Linked DNA regions of Homo sapiens: region 2 is linked to region 1. Evidence: promoter capture Hi-C in 16 types of primary human blood cells and fetal thymus (Javierre and others, 2016). All regions are on one chromosome and are shown on one strand. The core of a region is centred on a gene start or on the middle of the fragment in contact, and the rest is flanking DNA. Distances in the headings are between cores, read along the strand shown. Region 1 holds the start of CRYBB2 (crystallin beta B2). Region 2 overlaps MYO18B (myosin XVIIIB).

Evidence for each region. Contacts are between HindIII fragments. The CHiCAGO score rates a contact against its expected background, and 5 or more counts as called.
Region 2: a fragment that was not itself captured here is called in contact with the fragment with the promoter of CRYBB2 in region 1 in 1 of 17 cell types (M0 macrophages); the score reaches 7.5 in M0 macrophages.

The regions. Positions count from the first base shown.
Region 1 is chr22:25,217,868-25,220,967 of GRCh38, reverse strand. CRYBB2 (crystallin beta B2) reads right to left here and starts at 1,329. Exons shown (of 6, transcript NM_000496.3): 1 at 1,302-1,329. The HindIII fragment of the contact is 9,715 bases long and covers 1-3,100 here.
Region 2 is chr22:25,765,430-25,768,611 of GRCh38, reverse strand. It overlaps MYO18B (myosin XVIIIB), which reads right to left. Exons shown (of 44, transcript NM_032608.7): 4 at 1-497. Among named protein-coding and RNA genes, the nearest start is that of MYO18B, 25 kb to the right of the region's middle. The HindIII fragment of the contact is 443 bases long and covers 1,651-2,093 here.

The DNA.
Region 1 (3,100 bases), core at 80-2,579:
GGAACTCACAAAGTTCCCTGTTCCCCTGCTCCTTCTCCCACCCTCTCCCTGGGACTCCTCTCCCCATCCTGGTACCTAGATTTCTCTTCTCTGCCACTGGTTTTACTCCCCCATTAGTGAAATCATCTGATACAGAACCCACATTACAAGAAAGAGAAGAAATGGGTGCGACGGTAGAAATCCAGGCACTGTGGCAGGCAGCAGGGTAGACCTGCCTTAGCTAGTGAGAACATCAGAAAAGCCTGGAAAATTGTCAGCCTCTTCCCCCTTCCTGCAGAAGGGGTGGTCAAACCAGGCTGTGTTTCCCCAGGGGTAAGAGAGGAAGCCTGGCCTCCCTCTTCAGAGATAACGCCAGCTTCCAGAAGCCCCTTCCACATGAAAGGCCAATACTGGATGTTTCCCAGGAGGAAGAAATGCAGTTAAGCACCTTGGCAGCCAAATCTACTGCTCTCCCGCAAGAAACCAGCCCTCTGGGCTTGTCAGAGTGCCTGAGGTCCTGCCATATCACTTCCCAGTCCTGAGTGTTCACAGACTGAAGAAGCTCAGTTGGTCCAGTTCAGGAGCAGTCTCTGCTGCCTGCCAGAATTGAGACTCTGGGCAGGTCTCATCCTCTCCCTATGCCTCAACTTCCTGTTCTATAAAATGGGGACAGTAATGATGTCTAATAATACCTGTGAACAGGTTGTGAGGATTCAATTATGTAATGTATAAAACCGGAAGCACTTGGCCGTGGTCCCAGAACACACTCAGCATGCAGCAAATGGCAGCAATTGTGGCATTATTAGAGTCATTTCTACCATGCTTTAGTGGCATTGAAATCACCTGTTGCTGGGACCTGTCACATACCTGTGGCTGCATCCTATCCCCTAGCACTCCCAGAGGCTAGGCACAGAGTGGGTGCCCCCTAATTGCAGATGTGGAGGAAAACTGACTCACCCACCTAGAAACAATGCTGAACTGTCACTGGTTTGATTCTTGCAAAACCCTCAGTTACATTCTCCTCCTCAGCGACTGGCGAAACAAGGATGCTGATAGTCTGTTTAATATTAATAATAAAGAACATTGCCCCAATGCCCACTGTGTGCCAGGCACTGTGCTGGATGATCCCCTAACTTCTCTTGAATCCTTACAATAAAGAAGGCTTTTTAACCCCCTTCCCAGTTACCAGAAAAGAAAACTGAGGCTAACAGCATTGAAGTCTCTGCCCAAAGTCACTTGTCAGAATCTGGGTGCTCCCATGCTTGCGGACAGGGGTGAGGATGAGAGAAAGAAGGGAAGACAAGCAAGAGAGGCAATCTTACCAGTGACACCAGCCCCTGCGAGTGCCGTGAAGCTCGGCCAGCGGGAGGTGGCATTTATACCTTCCCCAGAAGTGCCGGTGCCAAGATGAGTGACCGCTGTGCTCCTGCGAAAAGCAGGGTGAGAATGCTGGATTAAGCTCTCACCAAAGCTCGGGTCAGCAAATGCCCACAGACATTGTGTCTCTGCACAATAATGTCATTAGCTTTCAGATTCGGCCGCGCCAGGGCGGTCAGGCGGCTGGGCAAGGAGATGCCCGCTTTGCATGCATCAGCCGTCCGGCTGCCAGGGCCAGGGGTACGCTGGGTTCACTGGTACGGTCAGTCAGGCCGTGAGGCATGGCAGACAGAGGAACATCTCAGTGGGCCTGGGGAAGAACAAGTAAAGAAGGGTGGTTTGGCAGAGTCTGGGCTTCATTCATCTACCCATTTATTCATTCAACAAATATTTGTTGGGCATCCACTTGGTGACAATCTCTGTTCCAGGGGAGTGTCAGGAAGAGGACCTACGCCAGCCCAGGCCATTCAGAAAAGCTCCTGGGAGGTAGCGCATCCCTCAGGGATGGAGAAGAGGAAGCCTGGGAACAGGGTGGGGGGACAGTTCCAAGCAGAAAGGGTCCATATACAAGGAACCAGCATGGTGTATTTCAAGAAGACCTGAAAACAGGTTAACAAAGCTAAAGCATGACATGTGACAAATAGGGCCTGTGCCAGGTGGCCAAGGTGGGCAGGGCCTGATGTTGCAGGGCCAGGGAGGCCAATTATGGAGAGTGCATTTTATTCTCAAGGCCCCTGGCTGTTTCTCTTTCTTTTCTTTCTTTCTTTCTTTCTCTTTCTTTCTTTCTTTCTTTCTTTCTTTCTTTCTTTCTTTCTTTCTTTCTTTCTTTCTTCTCTCTCTCTCTCTCTCTCTCTCTCTCTCTCTCTCTCTCTCTCCCCTCTCTCTCTCTCTCTCTCTCTCTCTCCCCCTCTCTCTCTCTCTTTCTTTCTTTCTCTTTCTTTCTTTTGAGATGGAATCTCACTCTGTCACCCAGGCTGGAGTGCAGTGGTGTGATCTCGGCTCACTGCAACCTCTGCCTCCCAGGTTCAAGCGATTCTCCTGCCTCAGCCTCACCAGTAGCTGGGACTACAGGTGTGCGCCACCAGGTCCAGCTAAATTCTTTTTTTTGCTGTATCTTGTTAGAGACAGGGTTTTGACATGTTGCCCAGGGTGGTCTCAAACTCCTGAGCTCAGGCAATCCATCCACCTTGGCCTCCTAAAGTGCTGGGATTCCAGGCATGAGCCACTGCACCCGGCCTGTTTCTTAACCACTGTCCTAGAGTGAGTTGCTCTTAGATCCCTACCACTGGCCCCATCGCTGCCACATGGGTGCCCAGCCTTTACTCACATTTCTTTTCTATTTTTTTTTTTTTTGAGATGGAGTCTCGCTCTGTCGCCCAGGCTGGAGTGCAGTGGCACGATCTCAGCTCACTGCAAGCTCTGCCTCCCGTGTTCACACCATTCTCCTCCTTCAGCCTCCCTAGTAGCTGGGACTACAGGCGCCCGCCAACACGCCCGGCTAATTTTTTGTATTTTTAGTAGAGACGGTGTTTCACTGTGTTAGCCAGGATGGTCTCGATCTCCTGACCTCATTATCCGCCCGTCTCGGCCTCCCAAAGTGCTGGGATTACAGGCGTGAGCCACCGCGCCCGGCCTTTACTCATGTTTCTTTAGTGCACACACCTTCCTTGCAGCCCAGGCTGTGTCTTGATCCAATCTGAGGCTTGGAGACTGGGTCAAGTATACCTGCTTTCCCCTGTCTCTC
Region 2 (3,182 bases), core at 623-3,122, 550 kb before region 1:
TTCAGTGCCACAGTTCCTTGGCCTGGGTCCCCAAGACCCCCAGTCCGGGTCTTCTCAGCTTTCGGGGCCAAGATCTCGGTGCTGGCCTGGGAGCCACAAGGAGTCCTAGAGGTCTCCCCTTTCTTTTCCTTTCCAGTATCTGTGGCGGGGGGAGAGGTCTTGCAAGGGGGGGCGTCATGGGGATGAGTCTTCTCTGGCTTGGCTGAGTCCGGGTCCAGCTTGGCCACCATCAACAACACATCACCCCTCCTCACGCCCCTCTTGAAGGGGACAGTCTTTTTGGTTGGTGTCGCACTGGAGCCCAGCTCCTGGGCCTTCTCACCATTGATGCTTGTCATCTGCTCAGGGTCGGGGCTGCGGGACCCCTCGCTCTCCTTGCCCAGAATGTCTGAGCTCCCAGGAGAGCTTGACTGGTCGTCCTGAGAGATCTGCTGGCTTCCAGATCTGGTGCCACTGCTGGACTTGCTGTTGGGTTGGCTGATGGAAATTTCTGGGATCTGGGAGAAAGAACACAACCATGCCTACATAGCTGCTTGCTGACCTGACAGCTTTGTCATTCACTCGTGTTCGTTCATTCATTTCATTGTTCACTTCTCCATTCATCCTTCCACAGATGCTCGAGCACCTCCAAATCCAACAGGCATGGCCAAGCCTAGCACCCTTGACCTTGGCCTAGCCCCTCAAAGTTGAGTGATGGAGTGGAAGGAGTGGACTTTGGAGCCCAACAGAACCAAGTTCAACTCCTGACTCTGACACTCTATAGCTGTGTGACCTTAGCTAAATGACTTCTCCTCTCTGAGTCTGTTTTTTAATCAATAAAATGAGAATGATAAAAGCCTACCTTGCAGGGTAGGTGTGAGAATGTGTGACAATATGTAGAAACTGAGCCCAGCGCATAGTGTGTCCTCAACAACAGTAGCTGCTGCTACTACTGTTGTTATTTCTGCCTGGATTTTTCCTAGGCGAGTAGGGGATCCAGGAAAGGACTCAGGGCCTGTCACTAGAGGACCTGTTCTCACCTTGGCTCTAACACTCTCCAGCTAGGCTTCCTTCTATGTCTATCTGGGCTACCATCTCTTCTCTCTGGGCTTCGGGTTTCCCCAGTACAGGCAGATACCACCTGACCATCCAGATCTTTTATAGGATGAGATGTAGAAATGCACTTTGGAGATCAGAGAGAGAAGAATAAACCGAGCTGCTGCTACTTCCACTGCCCTGATCCCCATATCACACTTCCCATACCAGCTGAGGGCCCTGGTTTCTGCCCCTGGGGTCCCCCACTCTTGCCTGACCCAGACATTTGTGACTGCATAACACCCAAGGGGTTTCCACTGCCTGCTCCCTTCCCAGGCCTTGTTACTGCCTTGTGATTTTAGCCTTGTGCAGAGCTTCATCCTCAAACCAGCCTGGCTATGGCCTGAAGAGCTCACAGGTCCAGCTGTGCCTCCATCTCTGCAGAAAAAGACCTCAACCTCATAAGCAAGTTCTACCCTGATGTCTCGCTTCACCACCAGCCCTAGCCTGGGTTCTTCCATCTTGGACAATGCCAGCACAGCCTCACAGACACCCATGCCTGGGAATCTGGGATTCTCCCCCTCCTCTTGCATTCAAACCAGTCCCAGGGGCATGTTGATTCCACCCTGCCAAGCTTCACATCTATGTCTCTTTTTCCAAACTCATGTCCGCTATCCCTCACTTGGGCCATTGCCACAGCCCGTGAACTGCTGTCCCTTCAATTTGCTGCCAGCCATTTTATACCAGATCAAAAGATTTGGGTAGCTGCCCACAGCCTAAAGGAAAATCATTTGGCACCACCATTGGTCTTTCAAATTCCTCAACAAGGAACCCCAGCCTCCAATCTGACCATATTGTCCCTACTTGTTCCCATGCATGAACTGTACTGGTCACCTTCTCCTACCTGACCAGTCCCTGCTTCCAGGCTGTTGCCCATGCTGAGCTTGCTGCCTGGCGTGCCCTTTCCCCTCTTCACTTGTCCATGGTCTACTCATCTTCTATACCCAGCTCAAATATCTCTTCTATCTCCTCTCTACAAATCTTTGCCTGAAGACCTCAATCAGAAATTGTTCCAAGCTTGCACAAAGTTCCAGAGCACTATGCTAGTACACCAGTCACAGCGTGGCCACCTTCTGCGTTCCATTCTGGCTTTTGTGTCTCTCTCCTGTTTTAGGTGACCAATGCCACAGCAAAGTCTCTGTTTTCATCTTTGTAATAATCACAATAATAATAGTATCTATCATTTATATCTTCCTTGCAATGAGCCCTATATCACCATCATGCAATCTCCTATTTAATCCTCCGAAGGAACAACTGGAGTAGATTCTGAACTTCTCCCCATTCTACAAGCAAAGAACTAGATGTAAAGATGTAAGGTGACCCAGCTACAAAGGTGAAATGTAAAGCCAGTTCTCTCTGACTCCAAAGCCAGTGCCTTGAACTGCGGCATATTAGATGCCCTTCCTTTTCTCTCTAGGGCTCTCTGGAATCTCCTGGGGCACTTTTAAAAACCTTAACTCCTTGGCCTTATTCCCAGAGACTCTGATTGAGTCTGCCTGGGTTGTGACTGCCCGGGTGATTACGAGGTTCAGCTGGTGCTCAGCATCATGGCTCTGGGGCCCAAGGCCGAGTAGCTTCTCCTGACCTTCTGGGGGAAGGCAGGACATAGCCTTGGAAGGGGGATTGACTGCACTTGGCAAATCTCACCACTGTCTACACCATATTGAAAAGTAAGTCAGTGCCTTATTTTTAACCAACCACCACAGAGGAGACAGTAACATGGGGTGGGCCAAACAAGATAACCAGTGCCAGCCTCCTCCCACCCCACCCTCATATGCCCATGGATTCTCTTCCTTTGGACCTTCAAAGTCATCAAAGCCTTTGGTCCCCCCACCCTGCCACCCTTTTTAGCATATAGAGGGAAACAGCACCTCTAGAATAACTGGGGCCAATAGAAACTAATAGCACATTTTTACAGATGAGTAAACTGAGGCCAAGAAAGGGGAAGGGGTTTAGCCAGGACCACAAAAAGCGGCAGGGCCAGAGCTAGAATCTAGGTCTCCTTGACATTCAATACGGGTTACTTTCCACTCCAGTGTTATTCCAGCCTCTCCCTGTTCCTCACTGACTGGGTAGCCCTAGGAGAACCAGGTCACTTCCCCAAGCCT